5 separate regions of the Homo sapiens genome follow, and all the other regions are linked to region 3. The links are contacts of gene promoters, found by promoter capture Hi-C in blood cells and fetal thymus (Javierre and others, 2016). All regions are on one chromosome and are shown on one strand. The core of a region is centred on a gene start or on the middle of the fragment in contact, and the rest is flanking DNA. Distances in the headings are between cores, read along the strand shown. Region 1 has its middle 21 kb from the start of SP7. Region 2 overlaps SPRYD3 (SPRY domain containing 3). Region 3 holds the start of ITGB7 (integrin subunit beta 7). Region 4 has its middle 5.4 kb from the start of SP7. Region 5 holds the start of PRR13 (proline rich 13).

Region 1 (4,239 bases), core at 658-3,157, 150 kb before region 3:
AGACAGGGTTTCTCCATGTTGGTCAGGCTGGTCTTGAACTACCAACCTCAAGTGATCAACCGACCTCGGCCTCCCAAAATGCTGGAATTACAGGCGTGAGCCACCGCGCCTGGCTCAGGCTATATTTTTGTATTGCATTGTTTGACTTAAAGAAGCTTGTTATGTGTATTAGATATTAATTATTTGTTTAAAATATGACAAATATTTTCTCCCTATGGATTGTCTTTTTTTAAATTCTACACACGCTGCAGGTGTTGTTGTTGTTTTGTTTTGTTTTTTGACAGGAGTTTTGTTCTTGTTGCCTGCCACCACGCTCAGCTAATTTTTTTTTTTTTTTAATTGAGATGGAGTCCAGGATGGTCTCAATCTCTTTACATCATGATCCACCCGCCTCGGCCTACCAAAGTGCTGGGATTATAGGCATGAGCCACTGTGCCTGGCCCCTAGATTTATTTTTTTCTAGAGTTTTACAGAATGGAGGCTGAAGCAACTCCATCTTGGATGTTAATCTGCTATGTTGACTTCTGAATAACCCCAGCTCCAGGAATGCCTCTAAAATTTTTATTTTATCTACTGATCTTTGGGTAAGAGCATATACTTATCATAAATCCTGCCCTTAGGTCAAGACCACCTTGACCATGAATCTTGCCCTTAGGCAGATTCACAGAACATTCTTGCCTTTCCCATAGAGGTCGACTTCAATTGTCCTACACATTCCTTCCCTATGGTATATAAATTCTGGATCTGGAGATTAATGGCACAGGGATACACTGTCTTGTCTCACCACTGCCAGAGATACAAACAGGGCTTCTGTTTGTAAGTCCCTGTTAAATGTTTCTTTCTTTTTTTGAGACGGTCTTGCTCTGTCGCCCAGGCTGGAGTGCAGTGGTGCAATCATGATTCACTGCAGCCTCAACCTCCCAGACTCAAGTGATCTTCCTGCCTCAGCCTCCCCAGTAGCTGGGACCATAGGCAGGTGACACCACACACAGCTAATTTTTTTTTTTTTTTGACGGAGTTTCGCTCTTGTTGCCCAGGCTGGAGTGCAGTGGCATGATCTTGGCTCACCGCAACCTCCGCCTCCCGGGTTCAAGCGATTCTCCTGCCTCAAGCGGCCGAGTAGCTGGGATTACAGGCATGTACCACCTCACGTGGCTAATTTTATATTTTTAGTAGAGACAGGGTTTCTCCATGTTGGTCAGGCTAGTCTTGAACTCCCGACCTCAGGTAATTCACCCACCTCGGCCTCCCAAAGTGCTGGGATTAAACAGGCGTGAACCACCACGCCCTGCCTTTTTCTGTTTTTTGAGACAGAGTCTCACTTTGTCACTCAGGCTAGAGTACAATGGCTTGATCTCGGCTCGAGGCAGCCTCTGTCTCCCGGGTTCACGTGATTCTCCTGCCTCAGCCACCCATGTAGCTGGGATTACAGGCACCTGCCATCATGCCTGGCTAATTTTTGTATTTTTGTAGAGAATGGGGTCACCATGTTGGCCAGGCTGGTCTTGAACTCCTGACCTCAGGTGATCTGCCTGCCTCAGCCTCCCAAAGTGATGGGATTATAGGCGTGAGCCACTGTGCCTGGCCTACACAACCTCCGTCTCCCAGGTTCCAGCAATTCTCCTGCCTCAACCTGCCGAGTAGCTGAGATTACAGGCATGTGCCACCTCACCCGGCTAATTTTATATTTTTAGTAGAGACAGGGTTTCTCCATCTTGGTCAGGCTGGTCTCCAACTCCTGACCTCAGGTGATCCACCCGCCTCGGCCTCCCAAAGTGCTGGGATTACGTGCGTGAACCACTGTGCCTGGCCAAGATCTCTGTTTTAATGCTGGTCATTAGAGGGGCGAGGTGGCTGATGCCTGTAGTCCCAGCTACTTGGGAGGCTGAGGCAGGAGAATGGCGTGAACCCGGGAGGCGGAGCTTGCAGTGAGCTGAGATTGGGCCACCGTATTCCAGCCTGGGTGACAGAGTGAGACTCCGTCTCAAAAAAATAAAAATAAAGGCCAGGCGCAGTGGCTTACCCTTGTAATCCCAGCACTTTGGGAGGCTGAGGCGGGCGGATCACGAGGTCAGGAGATCGAGACCATGGTGAAACCCCTTCTCTACTAAAAATACAAAAATAAAAATTAAATTAAATTAAAAATAAAATAAAGTGTTTCAGTTGGTTGTTGGGGCTCATGCCTGTAATCCCAGCACTTTGGGAGGCTGAGGGGGGCCGATCATGAGGTCAAGAGATTGAGACCATCCTGGCTAACATGGTGAAACCTTGTCTCTACTAAAAATACAAAAATCAGCTGGGCGTGGTGGCACATGCTGCCTATAGTCCCAGCTACTCGAGAGGCTGAGGTAGGAGAATAACTTGAACCCGGGAGGTGGAGGTTGCAGTGAGCTGAGATCGCGCCACTGCACTCCAGCCTTGTGACAGAGCAAGACTTGACTCCGTCTCAAAAAAAAAAGTTTCATCCAGCAAAAAAAAGATTTATACATGTTTCTACAGGTATATCTAGTTTATCACTTCATTTATTTTATTTGTTTGTTTGTTTTTGTTTTTGTTTTTTGTTTTTTGTTTTTTTGAGACGGCATCTTGCTCTTCTCGCCCAGGCTGGAGTGTAATGGCACGATCTCGGCTCATTGCAACCTCCACCTCCCAGGTTCAAGCGATTCTCCTGTCTCAGCCTCCCAAGTAGCTGGGATTACAGGCACCCATCACCACACCCGGCTGATTTTTGTATTTTTAGTAGAGATGGGGTTTCGCCATGTTGGCCAGGCTGGTCTCAAACTCCTGACCTCAGGTGATCTGCCTCCCTCAGCCTCCCAAAGTGCTGGGATTACAGTCATGAGCCACTGCGCCCGGCCCATTTATTTTATTTTTTATCGTAGAGATGGGGTCCTGCTATGTTGAGCAGGCTGGTCTCTAACTACTGGCTTCAAGCAATCCTCCTGCCTCAGCCTCCCAAAGTGCTGGAATGCTAGAATTGCAGGTGTGAGCCACTGCACATGGCCTAGTTTATCACTTCTAACTTATGCATAGTATTCCCTGCAAGATGGAGAACTAGCTTCTTTTTAACTTTTTTATTATTATTATTACTTTTTGAGACATAGTCTTACTCTGTTGCCCAGGCTGGAGTTCAGTGGCACCGTGTTGGCTCACTGCAACCTCCATCTCCTGGGTTCAAGCAGTTCTCCTGCCTCAGCTTCCCAAGTAGCTGGGATTACAGGCACCCACCACCAAGCCCGGCTAGTTTTTATATTTTTAGTAGAGATGGTGTTTCACCATGTTGGCCAGGCTGGTCTCAAACTCCTGTCCTCAGGTGATCCACCCACCTCAGCCTCCGAAAGTGCTGAGATTACTGGTGTGAAGCCACCACGCCTGGCCAAGAACTAGCTTCTTGAACCAGAAAGCTGTCATGAATATTCTCAAACATGTTACCTTATAGTTCTGTGTAATACTTTCTCATGGTGAAGATTCTAATATAAAAGCCTGGTCATTTCACCTCCTTACTCCACATCTTTCAATAACTCTTCATTTCTTTTTCTTCTTTTAAGTTTCTGTGGGCTTTCTGAGAACAAAGATTAGACCTTGAGTGCAGTGGTAGGACGGCAGCTCACTGCAAACTGTCTCCCCAAGCTCAGGTGACTCTCCCACCTCAAGCTTCCCAAGTAGCTGGGACTACAGGTGGATGCCATCACGCCTGGCTAATTTTGTGTGTCTGTGTGTATTTTTACCTGAGGTGTGGTTTCACAAAGCCTTCCAGAGGCCAAGGCTGGTCTGGAACTCCTGGACTCAAGCAATCCACCCGCCTCAGCCTCCCAAAGTGCTGGGATTACAGGCATGAGTCACTGTGCCCAGCCTCTTTTTTTCTTCTTTCTTTTTTCTTAAGACAGGGTCTCATTGGGCGCAGTGATTCACGCCTGTAATCCCAGCACTTTGGGCGGCTGAGGTGGGTGGACCACCTGGGTTTAGGAGTTTAAGACTAGCCTGGGCAACATGGCGAAACCCAGTCTCTACCAAAAATACAAAAAAATTAGCCGGGTGTTGTGGTGCTCGCCTGTGATCTCAGCTACTCAGGAGGCTGAGGTAGGAGGACTGTTTGAGCCTGGGAGGCAGAGGTTGCAGTGAGTCAAGATTACGCCATTGTACTCCACCCTCAGTGACAGAATGAGACCCCATCTCAAAAAAAAAAAAAAAAAAAAGGTCTCATCATGTAGCTGATCTGGAACTGGGCTCAAACTGGAC
Region 2 (4,397 bases), core at 629-3,128, 140 kb after region 3:
ACAGGTTGAGGGACCAGCATCAAGATCCTAACAGTTCAGACTCTAAGGGTTAACCTTCACTCCTCCTCTAGGTTCCTAACAGCTATAGACCAAGGAGGCAGAGGAATGTACTCAAGAAAGAATCTGTCAGGGAGGCCAAATATTCCCCCCACTTCCACCCCTCTGAGTTCTCTGGGAAGGCTCAGGAGGGGTCGGGGGAGCTTTGTCCAGGAGCAGGAGAGTGGATCAGGAGGTTTATGATGGCTTTCACTGTGAGGGCTGGGCGGTCCCCTCTGAAGAGGGCACGCTGTACAAGCCTCACCTATACACTGTACAAGTACCTAGTCGTCCAGGACATCAGCATTCTGTCCGAAGTGCTCTGTGGTTGGCAGGTAGAGAGTGGGTTTTAAAGACCCATGTTGGGGTAGTCCGTCCTGGCTTTTAGCGTGAGAAAGCACCTCCACCCTATCCAGAGACAGAAATGCAGCAGCTACCCTCTTCTGAGCTGAGGCAAAGGGAGGGGCTGGCCGGGTATTTCCCAAGGATCAGGGTCTGGATCGGCTGTCTTTTGGCTCTGGAAATGGAGAACACTGTGTTTCCTACACCGAGGCCAGTTGGATAGAATGGGTCAAAGGCAGCTGTGGGGTCCCCCACCCAGTTCTGCAATGCTGGGTGGAGAGGGTGGGCTGGGGGCTGCTCTGCCTGGGTGGAGTCTAAACTAGTTAATGTGGATCAAGCCACACCCCTCCTGGCTTCCCGGGGAGAGAGGCAGAGGAGGAACCCAGGCTGAGCAGAGAATACACCATGAACAGAAGTCAAACAGTGTGGCCTTGGGGATGGGCTTAGGTGGTCTCCCGTGCATGCTGCTTTCCCCCTCATCCATCCCCAGTTATCTTTGGAGAGGAGGGAAGGATGGACTTGAGGTGGCGGGGCTGAGATCCAGGGCTGAGAAAGGCACCAAGCCCCTCTAGTCCTACTCTCAGAAGGGGTTAGTAGCACCCCGCTCTAAGCACCTGAGCTAAGCAGCGGCCGTCTGAGGCTGGGAGTGGGGATGCGGGAGCAGCCTCTGCTGGAGACACGCACAGGCTTCTGTGCTGGTGCAGGTGGGCATAATTCCTTTCCTGTTCAGGCAGGAATCTGTGAGAGGTGAGAGGCCGGCGTCCCAAAGCTTGCCAGGGAGACGTGGAGGAGGTCCCTAGGCAACATGTTTCCTTCAGGGCTGCAGGGGTGGGAGGGTAGAAGAAAGTCGTGAGGGGCAGTTGGGCTAATTAAAAGGAGATTAAGGAATCCCAGGTGAGGCCGAAGGTGGGGGAAAGAGGGGATGGGGTTGAGTCATCACCCCACTATTACCATGACAACTGACAAATAAATCCTCCCAGATTGGGGGTTGCCGCCCCGTCGTGCCCAGGCAGGACCATTGTGGGACTGAAGAGCCCCAAGAACCCATCAGTCATCTCCCCTATCCTACCTCCACGCCCCTACTCCAACTTGAATGAGCAATGAGGGGCTGGGAACAGCTAAGCCTGCCTCTGTCTTCATTTTGACCTCTCCTCTCCCTCACATGAAATGAGGGAGTAGAGCTGGGCGTTCTGGGTCCCTGGGCTCCCCTCAGCACCTCCCTGACCCAGCTAAGAACAGCTGTGTTCACAGCCAAGTAAAACAAGGACCTTGAGAAATTATGTCAGGCCCATCCCAGGCAGAATTGGCTTCTGAACTCACCCGCTTCCCCTGAATATCTGGGGTTGGCACCTAACTTCTGCATCCTCCCTGTCCCCATTAGGCCCCCTGAGAAAGTCATCAAGTTTCCTCTCAGCTAGTCTTGCTTCTCCTTTCCCCTGTGTTTGGGACCCTGGGCGGACCTTTCCCAGCAGGAAAGGCTGCAGGGTTTTTCAGCGGGCGAGGATGCATCTAGAGCCCCCTGGTGTGCCGCTCCCCTAGCTGTGCTGCTTTCCCCGGCCTCCCAGAAAGTGTGTGGGGGAAGACAGCGTGGGCATTCAGCAAGGGGTGCTCTCCCCTTTGCCTCCCACCCCATCCTGCTCTTCCATGCTGGCCTAGAACTTTGGGGCCACATTGTATCTCTAGGATTCTTTCCCTTTCAGCCAGGAGTTTTTGTCAGACCTGGGAAAGTGGGACCCAGACTGCCTTGGGCCCAGGTTTCCAGGGTGGGTGTCAGCCTGTCCCCTGACCCCCATCTGGCTCTTCCCCCACAGCTGCTGGAGTACTTAGGGAAGGGCAAAAGCATCGTGGATGTGGGGCTGGCCCAGGCCCGGCACCCACTCAGCACCCGCAGCCACTACTTCGAGGTGGAGATCGTGGACCCTGGAGAGAAATGCTACATCGCCCTGGGGCTGGCACGGAAGGTGGGCACAAAGGCTGAGCTTTTTTGCTCATGGAGCTGCTCAGGTCTGGGGCTGTTGGGGCAGCACCAGGAAGCTCTTAGGAGAAACCAGGGGAGCCCAGGCTTTGGAGGGAGGGTGCTAAGCTGAGATGGAACACAGTTGTATGTGTCTGCTGTGTAAGAGTACACACCCCATGTGACCAAGGACCTGAGACAGGTCATGACTGCACCACACACTAAGGCCTGGGGGGAGGGGGTGGGACATGCCATGGCTCTGGCCTTAAAAGCTTAACTAACACTTTCCTCACCCTCCCTGGTTCCCCTGAAGCCCCAGTGCCTGCAGGGTATGAGTGTGCAGGGTTGGCACTCTCTGGGCTGTGGTCTGTCCCAGAGGTTCAGATGCTACTCGCCACTCTCTCCTGTCTTGTTTATGCATGGGACCATAGATTTTCTTTTCTCTTCTTGGTGCAGGACTATCCCAAGAACAGGCACCCTGGCTGGAGCAGAGGGTCTGTGGCTTATCATGCAGGTGAATAGCGGGCTGCCTGGGAAAGGTGGGATGGTGGGAGATGTGGAGGCATAGGGACATCCACTTTCCCCTCTCCTGGCCCCTCACAAATGGCCTTGCTGTTTGCCCTGCTGCTGGCTGACCTCCCCTTCCCAAATCGCTAGTGCTTCCTCCTCATCTGTGTTTTCCTCCCAGCTCTGGAAACCAGGGGAGCAGGACAGGAGAGGGAGATCTGGGCCCAGATGGGACATTCCAGGCCTCTGAGCTGGTCCCCCCGTGCCCTTCCTGCAGACCCTCATTTCCTCATTTTCTTTTTTCTTTTGCTGCTTGGTTTCCTTGGCTTTCTTTAGAAGAAAACTGAGCCTAGAGTTCCTCGACCCACCTCCCCCTGCCTGCCCTCCCTGGGTGTTCATTCCTTCCCTAGGGCCCCCTCCTCTGACTCATTTCCTAAGGGTTCTCCCTTACCCTTACCTTGAGCAGATGGATACTACGTCTCTTTATTTTATTTGGTGCCCCCTTCCCATATATCTCGCTCCAATTTTTTTTTTTTTTTTTTTTTGAGATGGAGTCTCACTCTGTCACCTAGACTGGAGTGCAGTGGCATGATCTTGGCTCACTGCAACCTCTGCCTCCCAGGCTCAAGTGATCCTCCCACCTCAGCCTCCTGAGTAGCTGGGACTACAGACGGGCGCCACCACGCCCAGCTAATTTTTGTATTTTTAGTAGAGATGTTTCGCCATGCTGGCCATGCTGGTCTCAAACTCCTGACTTCAGGTGATCCACCCTCCTTGGCCTCCCAAAGTCCTGGGATTCCAGGCGTGAGCCACCGCGCCCGGCCTCTCTCTCCATCTTTGTTTCCGCCCTGACCCTTCCCTTCCTCTGAGGGGTGGGAAGTGTTCAGCTTCATGAGCCACTCTGGGGGTGTGGTGTCAGCCCTCCTTCCTCAAGTGTTTGTCCTTTCCCCTCCCTCCAACAGACGATGGGAAGATCTTCCATGGCAGTGGTGTGGGGGACCCCTTTGGGCCACGCTGTTACAAAGGGGACATCATGGGCTGTGGAATCATGTTCCCCCGGGACTACATTTTGGACAGTGAGGGTGAGTGGGGTAGGGGTGGCCAGCCAGGCTGCTTGGGGCCGAGGGTGGAAAGGCACCACAGGAGCTCAGGTTTCCTGGTCTCCTAGGGGACAGTGATGACAGTTGTGACACAGTGATCCTGTCTCCGACTGCCCGGGCCGTCCGGAACGTGCGGAATGTCATGTACCTGCACCAGGAAGGGGAAGAGGAAGAGGAGGAAGAGGAAGAGGAAGAGGATGGGGAAGAGATAGAGCCGGAGCATGAGGGCAGGAAGGTGGTGGTGAGTACGGAGAGTTTGAGGTGGGACCAGGGTTTTTGGGTCTGGGCAAAGGGTGGGTATTAGTGGGGAACAGAACTCACAACCAGGGTGGGAAAGACGGGAAGCTCTGGCGTTGCCCAAGGGCTGTTCCCAGCTCCAGGGGTTGCTGAGATCGGGAGACGGTCTTGGGAGGCTGTTTTCCGGCCTCAGCACGCCCTCTGGTGGTCACTTCCCATAA
Region 3 (4,362 bases), core at 1,488-3,987:
CCACCTCCAGTTATGCATATGTGCATATCTGCTTTTCTCTGGGGAAGGAGTCCATTGAAGTTTTATTTATCTTTTTGTTTTTCATTTTTTTTCTTGAGACGGAATTTCACTCCTGTTGCCCAGTCTGGAGTGCAGTGGTGTGATCTTGGCTCACTGCAACTTCTGCCTCCCGGGTTCAAGCGATTCTCCTGCCTCAGCCTCCCAAGTAGCTGGGATTACAGGGGCGCACCACCATGCTCAGCTAATTTTTGTATTTTTAGTAGAGATGGGGTTTCACCATGTTGGCTAGGCTGGTCTCGAACTCCTGACCTCAAGTGATCCACCTACTTCAGCCTCCCAAAGTGTTGAGATTACAGGCGTGAGCCACCATGCCTGCCCTGAAGTTTCATTTAGTTCTCATGAGGGCTCCTGGCCCCAGAAGAGAAGAAGCCCGCATCTAAGCTACAGTGTTACTGTTTTACACCAGCCCCTCACCCAGGGAGCCCTCTGGCCTTCTGTCCCCAACCACCCTGCTATCACCTTATACCTTACTCCCCCCACCCTCTCTGTTCCCACTCTTCACCCCATGACCTCCACTCACTGCCACCTGCACTGTTACCTTCTTTCCGAATATCTGTCCTTGCTCCCACACGCCTTCCCTCTGCAACACGCCTTTGCAGTGCCTTTGGCCTCTACTGCTGCACCCTGTACTCTTCCCTTCGCCCTCTGTGACTCCCCTCAAGCCCCTCCTCCGTGTCCTACCTTCCCTGGGACAGTGCCTTGCCTACCTTGTTCCTGGCTCTCTTCATTGGTGACCTGTGGTTATGACAAAAAAGTTGAGGATGTGGGAGTAGGGGAGAGAAGAGTGGAGGGCGGAAAGCAGAAGAAGAAAGTGAAAGAAGCTCTAGAGGAAACCACAGGGCCTGTGGGGAAGGAGGGTCATTGCCGTGGTAACCCCTGGTTGTGGGGGAAGGGTATAGGTCCTGGCTATCCCATAGCCTGAGGCCAGCCAAGCCCACCCAGAGAAAGAGCCCCTCCTCTCCAATTGTCCCCTCCTAGCAGCTACACCTCTGCAATCCATCTGACATTTATTGAGCACCTACTATAAGATGGGCACTTGGCTAGGTGTGGTGGCTCCAGCAGGGAAGCCTTGTAGAGCCAGTCCCTGCCTACAAGGAGTGCTCCTTCTGGTAGGGGAGATCGACCTGTGAACACAGACCTCATGTCTAGTTCCCTCTCAAAGCTCTTAGTGATCTGTATGGGCCAGGAGCAAATCCCATTAATATTTTCCTGCTCTCCCTACGGGCTTCATCCTTGCCTTGGCTTCAGCTGTTGTTCCTGCACTCTCTGCTTCTCCCAGTTCACCTCCTCCACCCCTTTCCCAGGATCCACTACTGTGTTGGCTCCTGGTTCCCCAATCACATGCTCTGAGCCTGGCCCTATGCCTCTCTCTTCCAAGTTTCCAGTTGTGTGGACCTTGAATTTCTCAAAGCCTCTTCACTTCTCACCTCTGCTACTTCTCATCCCTACTAATTCTCTTATCAAGCCCTTACTTAGTATGTGCCAGGTAGTCTTGTAGGCAATTGATATGAATTATCTCTTTTAATTCTCACGACAATCCTGTGAGTCTTGCTGGACAGATGAGAAAACAGCTGCAGGCAGGTTTAAGTAACTCAGCTAAGCTCCTTACTACTAGTAAGTAGTAGAGCCAGGATTTGAACTCTAGCAACTTGGCTCCAGAGCCTATGTAGTCAAGCACACTTATATAATGTATCCTGGGTTTTCAAAATGAACAAGTCTGTAATTTCTGGCCTCTCTACAGTACTTACTGCCCCTATTCCCTCCTATCATGTTCCTTCCTATATAAGTAAATGGAGAGATCATGAATTTTGGAGGCAGGCAGACCTGGATTTAAATCCCAGACCAGCCGAGTGTGCCTGTAATCCCAGCTACTCAGGAGGCCAAAGTGGGAGGATTGCTTGAGTCCAGGAGTTACAGACCAGCCTGGGCAACACAGCAAGACCCTGTCTCAAAAATAAAAAACAGGCTGGGCATGGTGGCCCACACCTGTAATCCCAGCACTTTGGGAGGCCGAGGTGGGCAGATCAATTGAGGTCAAGAGTTTGAGACCAGCCTGGCCAACATGGTGAAACCCCGTCTCTATTAAGAATATAAAACGTTGCTGGGCATGGTAGTGCACCCCTGTAATCCCAGCTATTCGGGAGGCTGAGGCAGGAGAATCGCTTGAACCTGGGAGGCGGAGTTTGCAGTGAGCTGAGATTGTGCCATGGGACAGTGAGCTGAGATTGTGCCTGGGAAACAGAGCAAGACCCTGTCTCAAAAGTTAAATTAAATTAAAATAAAAAAAATAAAATAATAAAAATTTAAAATAAAAATCTTTTTTCTTTTTTTTTTTTAAATCCTAGACTAGCTACTTACTAGCTGTGGGACCTTGGGCAAAATTCTTTATTTCCTGCTTCCAAGCCTCAATCTCTGCATCTGTAAAATTGGGGCTTGGGGGAATATTAACCCCTATCTTATGAGATTGTTGTGAGGGTTAATTGTAATATGTTACGTTCAACACATGACAGGGGTTCAATAAATGGGCTTCTTTCTTCCAGATCTCTGTATTGTCCACTCCCTTGGCTCAGCCCCACCCCTATCTGCACCACCTTCTAGATCAGTCACCCCCACCAACCCCAAATCTTCCCCACCCTGGGGAGTGTCACTTCCTCCTCTGCCGTCTCCCAGATCAGTACACAAAGGCTGCTGCTGCCGCCAGAGGAAGGACTGCTCTGCACGCACCTGTGAGTACCAGGGCACCAGCCCTTCTGCCTCCTCTCCTTACAAGCTCTGGCCCACCTGGTCCCAACCTCTTGGGAAGAGGGCTCTGACCTGGATACCGAGGGTCCTGTCCAGACTTGAGAAAGGCTCTGAACTCCTTTCTGCATTCCTAAGATCCCCTGACCTGGTTCCCTCCTCCAGTTTCACAGTACCCCCACCTCCACCTCTCCAAAAGCCCAATCTCTCCTGCATCAGTTTCCCATGAGTGGGTCTGGAGGCAGGGATGTATATGAGTGCTGTCATCTGAGTGCCTGCCATGTGCCAAGGACTATACCGAAGTAGGGCAGGTATACCGATTATACTGAGGGAGGGTTCTTCCAACATCACCCCCAGCTGCTATCCCTAATGCTCTGCCTTCAGCTCAGACTTCTTCCTAATCGGCACCTTGGTCACAGACTCCACTGTCCTGGGACACTGAGGCCCAGCAGCTCAGTTCCGTCCCCTCCTTGTGACTCCCAGTGGGCAGCAGAGGGTTCTGCTTGATTTGGAAGGTAGGGATGGGTTTGGAAGAGGCTCTGTTTCTCAGCTGCTGAGGGGGGTCACAGGGTGTGTACTGGAGTCAGAATGGAGTCCAGAAAAATGGAAATAACCACTTGGTCCCAGAGAGAGAAGGGAAGACTGCAGAATACCCCTAAGGAAAGAGAAATGGGATTAGGCAGAGCCCACCAGGGCTAGTGGGGAGAGAACACAACTTTTGATGGAGATAGTGCCTGGGTTGGAGGGAGGAAAGGAGAAAGCACAGCAGAGGCCTGGCCCTGCCCTGTCCTGCCCTGCCCCTAGTTCACTGGGTGACCCTGGCCTCATGGAATTTAGGTTTCCATTTGTAAAAAGAGTGGGATGGAGTAGTAGATTCAGCCATTCTATAGTTAGGAACAGAGGGGAAAAGGAAGTAAAATAGCCCTATGAAGAAGTGGAGCAGAGAAAAGCAGCAGAGAGATGCAATAGAAGTTTTGAAATGAAAGGAGCCAGAGAGAGACAGAGAAGCAGACAGAGAAATAGGTGGCAGAACATGTATTCTCAAGGAGGGGAGAAGAGAGGATAATTGGAAAGAAAGGTAGGAAAGGGCTGTCCAGGAAGTCCCAGGGCCCCCTTTAAGGGGAGATGAGTGGGCCTAAGGTCTCTGAAAAACCTATGCGGCAGCCGGGGCTCCACTTGTGAGAGATGAGTCAAAACCCGGCTTTGGGTTGCAGCATCTCCAGCCTCCCTGACCACAGGCATGCAGAGCAAGCAGGGCTGAGGTTACGCTGAGGCTGAGCTGGGACTGGCCTCTCCCCGAGGGGTGGAGGCTCCGTTATATATGGCGCCTGAGGTCACAGGTGGTGGGGAGCAGGACCAGGACATTCAAGGACTCAACACCCCACCCCTTTCCCACACTCTGTGCAGAGTATCTGGACCTGACTCTGGGCCCAGGCTGAAGAAGATGCAAATGGTTTATGACAAGGAGTTAGTTGGCCTTTCTCATACATTGCTGATGGGAATGTGGACCAGTACAAGTCCTGAAGAGTTTATGTTGGCAATACCCACCTATATATATATATT
Region 4 (4,460 bases), core at 1,917-4,416, 130 kb before region 3:
TGGGATTACAGGCATGTGCCAAAAATTGGCACAGCCAATTTTTGTATTTTTAGTAGAGAAGGGGTTTCACCATGTTGGCCAGGCTGGTCTCAAACTCCTGGGCTCAAGTGATCTGCCCGCCTTGGCCTTTCAAAGTGCTGGTATGTGCCACCGTGCTGGCCCCCTCCACTGACTTCTGCTCATCCTCTCTGCTACTGCAGGCCACACCTTCCCACATCTTGCTTGGACTGCTGCAACAGATTGTTTCCTTGCCTCCGATTTTGCCCTTCTCCCAACTGTGACAATACTGCTAGGCACCATTTATGGAGCAACTACTAAGTGCCAGACACTGTGCTAAGAACTCAACACTTTTTATTGCTAATCCTTGTAACAACCCTGGGAGGTTACCATATTAAGTTGCCCCTTTCAACAGGAGAGGAATCTTAGGCCTCAAAGGTTAAATAGCTCACCCAAGCTTGCACCATTGTAAATGCCTGATTTACCCAGAACCGCCTGGCTCTAAGCCCTTATTTCATTCTCCTCTCTGAAGTCAGTCATTTCTCTAATATACGAGTATTCTCATATATTGCCTTTGGATCAAGTCTAGGCCCCTTGCATAGCTGATTAGAACTTCTCCATCAGCCTCCACTCTGTGTTGCACTCACACTCAATTTTCAGCATCTCAAAAGTTGTTAATCCCTCATACCTCTGAGCCTTTGCATATACTCTTCCCCCTTCCTACAACACTCTTCCTTTTTTTTTTCTTTTAGACAAGGTCTCATTCTGTCACCCAGACTATGTTTTTTTTTTTTTGTATTTTTTGTAGAGATGGGGTTTCGTCATGTTGCCCAGGCTGGTCTCAAACTCCTAGACTCAAGTGATCCACCCACCTCAGCCTCCCAAAGTGCTGGGATTACAGGCATGAGCCACTGCACTGGCACCACTCTTCCTTTTTTTACTTGATAACTCTTATTTGTCCTTCAGTTTCTTTACTTAGTCATGCTGTCTTCCAGGAAGCCTTCCTTAATTCCCCCCCAACACTGGCTTAGATTTACTCTTTTGTCTCCTATAACATCCAGTACTTATTTTTTATTTTATTTTATTTTTATTATTTATTATTTATTTATTTATTTATTTTTTGAGACGGAGTCTCTCTGTGTCACCTAGGCTGGGATGCAGTGGCACAATCTTGGCTCACTGCAACCCCCGCCTCCCAGGTTCAAGCAATTCTCTGCCTCAGCCTCCCAAGTAGCTGGGATTACAGGCATCTGCCACCACATCTGGCTAATTTTTTTGTATTTTTAGTAGAGATGGGGTTTCACCATCTTGGCCAGGCTAGTCTCGAACTCCTGACCTTATGATCTACCCACCTTGGCCTCCTACAGTGTTGGAATTACAGGCGTGAGCCACCACGCCTGGCCCTCCAGTACTTATTCTATCGAGATACTTCCTACTCTTTTGTATTAGTTGCTGGTTAGTTTGTGAGGTGAAGGGATGAGTCTGTCTTGCTTGTTATTGCATGCCTAAGTCTAGCCCAGTGTGCTTAGCACAAAGTAGGTGCTTTCTGAACATTTGTTGAATGAAAGAATGTTCTTTAAGTTCATTCCACATTTCAAAAATCTGGGCTCCGAGGAAGAATGCAGCAGGCCAGAGAAAGCGGGGAGACGTGTGTATTTAGGAATTTTTTTTTTTTTAAATGGAGTCTCGCTTGTCTTCCAGGCTGGAGTGCAGTGGCACAATCTCGGCTCACTGCAATCTCTGCCTTCTGGGTTCAAGTGATTCTCCTACCTCAGCCTCCAGAGTAGCTGGGATTACAGGCACGCGCCACCACACCCAGCTAATTTTTGTATTTTTAGTAGAGACAGGGTTTGTTTGTTTGTTTTTTGTTTTTTTTTTTGAGACGGAGTCTCGCTCTGTCGCCCAGGCTGGGGTGCAGTGGCGCGATCTCGGCTCACTGCAAGCTCCACCTCCCGGTCACGCCATTCTTCTGCCTCAGCCTACCAAGTAGCTGGGACTACAGGCGCCCGCCACCACGCCCGGCTAATTTTTTGTATTTTTAGTAGAGACAGGGTTTCACCATGTTAGCCAGGATGGTCTCGATCTCCTGACCTCGTGATCCGCCCTCCTCAGCCTCTCAAAGTGCTGGGATTACAGGCATGAGCCACCTCGGCCAGCCTGAGACAGGGTTTTGCCATGTTGGCCACGCTAGTCTCAAACTTCTGACCTCAGGTGATCCACCCACCTCGGCCTCCCAAAGTGCTGGGATTACAGGTGTGAGCCACCTCACCAGGCCTGTATTTAGGATTTTGAAGGACCATTCCCTTGAGTTGCTCAGCCTCACTCCTAGGGATGATGTGATCAGAACTCCATCACCCCAACTTCTTCTTATGAAAGACACTAGTATATTTCATGGATCAGATTCTAGGGTATCGTTTTTACAAAGGGTCATTTTCTAGAGATGACCAGGTTCTTACTTAATTCAATGTTGTCCCATTTTAGACACGGGCATCCAGGACAGGTCCCCTTGTTTCAGAATCAGACCCCAGTCTTCCTCTTCCTTTCATTTTTCACTTTGTCCCCTGCCATCCAGATTCCTTCCTGCTCCTTCCATGGCACTTCTGTTTCTGATTCTGATCTGCCTCTCCTAAAGCTGCTGAATTATATCAGGGCTCAATGTCAATGAAGGAACCCAAGGCTCAGGGAAGAGGGGAGCCAGAGTCAGTCCCAGAGGTCCTGCCTTGCAGCCCTGGTGCTGGAAGAGGGGATGGGGAGACCTAGCAGAGAGGGAGGGAAGTTGTAGTCTGTCTGTACCTGTAAATTTGTGTACATATTTGTTGGGGTGAGGAACTCCTTTTCCAAGCTGTCCTATACAAAGGTTGCCAGCCTCTTAAAAGCTTCCTTTCTACCCTGTGTCCTCAGCTTTGCCTCCTAAAATTGGATCCTCTTCCCCAAGTACCCTGAGCCTAGTGTCAGAAATGCTGGGTCAAGGCACTCGGCAGTCTCTAAATCCTGAGGCCATGAATGGATGTTCCTTCAACCCAAGGAGCAAGCTTTCCTGGTCATCAGCCCCATTGCTCTTAGAGGACCCAACAGACTAGTAGCTGATCCTCAGGGTCTCTCATCTGTATGCCCACCATTTGTTGTTTCCTCTTTGTCTCTCCTGTGTCTTTCTGTTTCCCTGTCTCTGCGTGCCTTCTTCTTTCCTGTCCCCTCTATGTTCTCTGTCGCTGGAGTATCCACTGGAGACAAGGGCTGGGCTGGGTGCATGGGCGGGTAGTGGCCAGACCAGGGGCCCGGGACATGAGCGCAACTTTCCAAGCTTCTCTTCCAGGCCCCTGTGGTTGGGGAGCTCCACAGAGGGAGAGATGAGTCAGCGGGGCCGCAGAGCAGCGGGGGCCTGGGTGGGGGTAGGGATGCTGGGGTTCCCCAGGACCAGGGAGTTCGCTGGGGCCATCTGGGTCTCTGAACTCTGGTGTGTGTGTGGAGTATTGGATCAAAAGTACCTAAAGGTACACTGGAACTTCTTATACTAGTAGGAGTTGGAGGCAGCAATTTGCAGGACTGGCAGTGGCCTCCATATCACCCTTATCTCCAGATCCTTATAGGGAGAGGGGTTCCCAAATGCCCTTTAGGAGACCACAGAGATCTCCAGGGCTGTAAAGTTGTAATGGTAGCCCTGGGTATATGTATGTGACATTTGCCACATGTGTAGATACGTGTGTTGATGGGAGTCTGTGAGTCCATGTGGGGAGTATTCTAGGTGGCTGTGAGTCTGTATGCATGTATATATATACTGGTGTGTGCATTTTTATGATTGGGGGTTAGGGTGTCTTGGGGTAAGCATTATCTGTATATGTATATATCAGTGTGTGTCAATATGGATGCCTGCATAGTACAAATGTGTATGAATTATGTGTCACCTTGTGTGTGTGCAAGTATGCAGATCTGAATGTGTCTGTCATCAGGTATGTATTAGGGCATGTGTCAGTCTCTATTTCAGGGGCTCTGCTCACTATTCTCTGGTGATTCTCCCTAGGGTAGTCAAACCTTCTATAACAGCAACAATGAAGAGTTGGGAGTCCCTTTGGATGAGGCTCTTAGAGACAGCCCAGCCTAGAAAGGTGGTAGAGGGTGATGGTGTGGACGATGGAAGTAGCATCCCTTGGGAATAGGGGGTACAGGTCTCCCACTCTCCCCAGTTTTTTTTTTCTTTCTTTTTTTTTTTTTTTGAGATGGAGTTTTGTTCTTGTTGCCCAGGCTGGAGTGCAATGGCATGATCTCAGCTCACTGCAATCTCCACCTCCTGGGTTCAAGTGATTCTACTGCCTCAGCCTCCCAAGTAGCTGGGATTACAGGCACCCGTCACCACGCTCAGCTGATTTTTGTATTTTTAGTAGAGACGGGGTTTCACCATGTTGGCCAGGCTGTCTCAAACTCCTGACCTCAGGTGATCCACCCACCTTGGCCTCCCAAAGCGCTGG
Region 5 (4,304 bases), core at 1,051-3,550, 230 kb before region 3:
AAGATTTGGCTTTTGATTCTAAAATCCATTCTAAGGCTCACCCTAACTCCCCCCAGATAGGAGAAGCCTGATGTTTATTTTCAAGATAATCAGATTCTTCCCAGTAGCAATCTTTTATAAAAAGGAAGAATCATCTACCAGAGCGACACAATTGTCATCCCTCACGTCCACAGAATGTGAATCCCCCTCACCCAACCCCTGCCTACCTAGTCCCTCTGAGGGGGGACTCCTTCCCTAGCCAGTCTCCAGAGGGTACTGACCTTGCCATGCTTGTGGTACTTGTGGTGCTTTTGGTGCTTGTGCATCTTTTTATGAGCTTTCTTCATTTTCTTCTGCATCTTCTTGTCTACTATCACTGCTGGTCCAACCATGCCAGGAGCCAAGGGATTCACAGGAGGGATTCCAGGGGCAGGCGGTGGGTATGGAGGAGGGTAGGGACCCAACGGTTGGCATCCTGGATACCCTGGCTGTGGCACAGGATGAGGGGGCCCACCTGGGGGGAAAGCTGGATTGCCATGGGGAGCTCCTGGGGGAGGAGGACAGGGGCCTGGGGGAAAGGGTGGATTAATAGGTGGTGGGTGGGCAGGATTGGAACCTCCAGGGCACCCAATATTGGGGGGATATGGATTTGGCCCTGGCTGCCCTGGTGGAAGAAGCAGAGAATAAACATTAGAATTCCCCAGAGTCTCCAACAACAAACAACAAAAAGAAAGAGATTCTTTCTCACTCAATACTTAAAGGGAAACGGAAAGATGACAAAGAAGAATGGAGGGTAGGGGAGACAAACTTGAGTTGGGGAGAAAAGGGGGAATGTCCCTGGAAGGGCTAGGGAGAGGAGGGAGACAGTGAACTCTGAGGAAGACAAAAGCACTGGTCAGTCCAGGCGCGGTGGCTCACGCCTGTAATCCCAGCACTTTGGGAGGCCGAGGTGGACAGATCTCATGAGGCCATGAGTTTGAGACCAGCCTGGCCAAATTGTGAAACCCCCATCTCTACTAAAAATACAAAAAGTAGCCGGGCGTGATAGCATGCGTCTGTAATCTCAGCTACTCCAGAGGCTGAAACAGGAGAATCGCTTGAACCCAGGAGGCGGAGGTTGCAGTGAGCCTGGGCAACAGAGACTCCATCTCAAAAAATAAATAAATTAAATTAAATTAAAAAGCACTGGTCAGCTCTAGACTAAGGACTTTGCTTTTGCGGGTACAGCAGGTCGGGGGTAGGGGAGCTGATACAGAAACTTCCTGTTATAGAGCCCATCAGAAAAAGGGTTAGGGGTGGAACAGAACCCCCAAACACCTACCGGCATTGGGATTCCACATGTTTAGGTGTGTCCTCCAGCCTGAGGAGAAAGAAATGAGGCAAAAAAGATGACGGTCTAGAGGTAGGAAGTGGACTTAGCACCGGAGCCCAGCCCTAACGTCTTCCACCCCACAGTAGGCTCTCCTACCTGGAGAACTACCACAACTTCCACATAAGAAATGTCTCTTTTCTGGCTGGGCGCGGTGGCTCACGCCTGTAATCCCAGCACTTTGGGAGGCCGAGGCGGGTGGATCACGAGGTCAAGAGTTCGAGACCAGCCTGGCCAACATCGTGAAACCCCGTCTCTACTAAAAATCTAAAAATTAGCCGGGCGCGGTGGCGGGCACCTGTAATCCCAGTTATTCGGGAGGCTGAGTCAGGAAAATTGCTTGAACCCGGGAGGCAGAGGTTGCAGTGAGCCGAGACCGCGCCACTGCACTCTAGCCTGGGCGACGGAGCAAGACACCGTCTCAAAAAGAAAAGAAAAGAAAAGAAATGTCTCTTTCCACTTGTTTCTTCGCCCTCAATACCTACTTGGTTCCTAACACAGGAATCTAGTTCCCAGGGCCCCTCCACCCAGGTGGAAGCGTCTAACTCTTCGGAAGTAGGCAGTACCCGCGAGTCTCGGCCCCACCATCACTCATCTCCCTTTCCCTGGAACTGAGTACGGAGGCCTTTAACCACGCACAGAGTAAGAAAGGATCTCAAACAACTTTCTCTCTCCCTGGGGAGGACCCCACCTCAGGCTAAAAAAAGGATACGCCTCGAGGCGAAGTAAGAAGGAAGTTGCCCAAGAACCTCAAATACTTAAATATGTGGACACAGCCCCCTTCCTCCAAAAAAGAAAAAAGGCAAATGAAGATCCTAGCCCCAAGCTGCGAAGAGACTCTTGACCTAGCAAGGGGAAAAGGAAAAACCTATGGAATCCAGATACCCCATCACCTTTCCACCGCCGCCTGGGCTTGCTGCGTTCTCCTTCGCAGTCTCGGCTCTTCCTAGTCACCCAGACCCCGTGCTTCGGCACCCGCCTCTGCTACTGCCTAATTGGTAATTATGTGGCCGCTCGACTGATGATTAGACAACAAACTAATCAATCACTCTGGTCCGACTGAGGAGGAAACGGTTGCTCTAGGGGCGGAGCGGAGCCCTTTACGGCTAGGCCAGTACCGAGAAGCCGGAAATCTCCTGGGGGCGGGGCTAGGCGGAGAGCGCTGGAGGGGGCGGGGCCAGCTGCTGGGCAAAGTCCTAGAGACACCGAGAAGAAACTCTTCCCTTGCTCTCTTACCTCATGGTTCACTGGGTGCAATACCTTGTAAAATGAATACACTATGGTAAGTGTTGTAATACAGATATAGACAGAGTTCTCGGCAAGGGCAGAAGAGCTGCTGAGTCCCAGCCCCAAGCCTCAATGTTCCCGGCTCCGTCTTACACTCGCAAGGGAAGCAAACAAACATTCTTGCGGAAGATACAGAGATTTCATAATCTCTCCCAGGATTCCCTCTCTCAATTGCATAGCTCCGCCATCTGTCAAGTAGCCTAAACCAGAAACCAAGGAGGGCGTCCGTGATCCCTCTGCCTCCTTCACCTCCCTTACCCCAAATTATCAGTTTTGTCTCTCAAATATATCTGGAATCTCTCCACTTCTCTCTGTCTTCCCTGCTCCAAACCTCCCATCATCTGTCGCCTGGATTCATCTCTCCCCTGAATTGCTACAATGGCCTCCCTACAATGGCCTCCCTTTTTTTTTTTTTTTTTTTTTTTGAGACGGAGTCTCGCTCTGTCACGAGGCTGGAGTGCAGTGGTGCGACCTCGGCTCACTGCAACCTCCGCTTCCCGGGTTCAAGCGATAATCCTGCCTCAGCCTCCGAAGTAGCTGGGACTACAGACGCGGCTAATTTTTCTATTTTTTAGTAGAGATGGGATTTCACCATGTTGGCCAGGATGGTCTCGCTCTCTTGACTTCGTGATCTGCCCGCCTCGGCCTCCCAAAGTGCTGGGATTATAGGCGTGAGCCACCGTACCCAGCCTTTAAAAAAAAAAAAAAAATACAAGTGGCCGGGCGCAGTGGCTCACGCCTGTAATCCCAGCACTTTGGGAGGCCGAGGCAGGCGGATCACAAGGTCAGGAGTTCGAGACCAGCCTGGCCAATATGGTAAAACCCCGTTTCTACTAAAAATACAAAAATTAGCCGGGCGTGGTGACATGTGCCTGTAATCCCAGCCACTTGAGAGGCTGAGGCAGGAGAATCGCTTGAACCCGGGAGGTTGCAGTGAACCGAGATCACGCCATAGCACTCCAGCCTGGGCAACAGAGCGAGACTCCATCTCAAAAAAAAAAAGAAAGAAAGAAAGAAAGAAAGTGAGCTAGGCATGGTGGCACATACCTGTAATCCCAGCTAGTGGGAAGGCTGAGGCATGAGAATCGCTTGAACCTGGGAGGGAGAGGGTGCAGTGAGCCAAGATCATGCCACTGCACTCCAGACTAAGCAACAGAGCAGGACTCTGTTTCAAAAAAAAAAAAAAAAAAAAGTGGGATACAAAAAAATTTAAGACAATAAATTTTATGCCAAATATGTCATATTAAACTAAAGCATTTGAAATATTTTAAACTTTTTTTCTTTTAATTTTTATTTTTAGTGCTGGGGTACATGTGCATGATGTGCAGGTTTGTTACATAGTTAAATGTGTGCCATGCTGGTTTGCTGCACAAATTTTGCTGCACCAATAAACCCATCAGCTAGGTATTAAGCCCAGCATGCATTAGCTATTTTTCCTAATATTCTCACTCCCCTGACCCTACCCCCCAACAGGCCCCAGTGTGTGTTGTTCCCCTCCTTGTGTCCATGTGTTCTTACTGTGTAGCTCCCACTTGAGTGAGAACATGTTCCTGCATGAGTTTGCTGAGGTTAATGGCTTCCAGCTTCATCCATGTCCCTATAAAGGACATGATCTCATTCCTTTTTATGGCTACATAGTATTCCATGGTATATATGTACCACAGTTTTT

What was found. Contacts are between HindIII fragments. The CHiCAGO score rates a contact against its expected background, and 5 or more counts as called.
Region 1: a fragment that was not itself captured here is called in contact with the fragment with the promoter of ITGB7 in region 3 in 1 of 17 cell types (neutrophils); the score reaches 8.7 in neutrophils.
Region 2: a fragment that was not itself captured here is called in contact with the fragment with the promoter of ITGB7 in region 3 in 1 of 17 cell types (erythroblasts); the score reaches 5.8 in erythroblasts.
Region 4: a fragment that was not itself captured here is called in contact with the fragment with the promoter of ITGB7 in region 3 in 11 of 17 cell types (neutrophils, total B cells, activated CD4 T cells and 8 more); the score reaches 12.7 in neutrophils.
Region 5: a contact is called between the fragment with the promoter of PRR13 here and the fragment with the promoter of ITGB7 in region 3, in 1 of 17 cell types (neutrophils). The highest score is 5.3, in neutrophils.

Annotation. Positions count from the first base shown.
Region 1 is chr12:53,355,454-53,359,692 of GRCh38, reverse strand. No RefSeq gene overlaps it. Among named protein-coding and RNA genes, the nearest start is that of SP7, 21 kb to the right of the region's middle. The HindIII fragment of the contact is 3,499 bases long and covers 158-3,656 here.
Region 2 is chr12:53,066,097-53,070,493 of GRCh38, reverse strand. It overlaps SPRYD3 (SPRY domain containing 3), which reads left to right. Exons shown (of 11, transcript NM_032840.3): 7 at 2,190-2,339; 8 at 2,789-2,846; 9 at 3,802-3,921; 10 at 4,008-4,180. Among named protein-coding and RNA genes, the nearest start is that of SPRYD3, 11 kb to the left of the region's middle. RefSeq lists an enhancer at 4,054-4,397. The HindIII fragment of the contact is 1,457 bases long and covers 1,150-2,606 here.
Region 3 is chr12:53,205,626-53,209,987 of GRCh38, reverse strand. It overlaps ITGB7 (integrin subunit beta 7), which reads left to right and starts at 2,737. Exons shown (of 16, transcript NM_000889.3): 1 at 2,737-2,786. The HindIII fragment of the contact is 16,923 bases long and covers 1-4,362 here.
Region 4 is chr12:53,339,474-53,343,933 of GRCh38, reverse strand. It overlaps a transcript of SP7 not described here. Among named protein-coding and RNA genes, the nearest start is that of SP7, 5.4 kb to the right of the region's middle. The HindIII fragment of the contact is 269 bases long and covers 3,032-3,300 here.
Region 5 is chr12:53,439,730-53,444,033 of GRCh38, reverse strand. It overlaps PRR13 (proline rich 13), which reads right to left and starts at 2,300. Exons shown (of 4, transcript NM_018457.4): 1 at 2,242-2,300; 2 at 1,301-1,339; 3 at 261-643. The coding sequence starts at 1,319. RefSeq lists a silencer at 2,303-2,452 and enhancers at 2,743-2,832, 2,563-3,328. The HindIII fragment of the contact is 19,365 bases long and covers 1-4,304 here.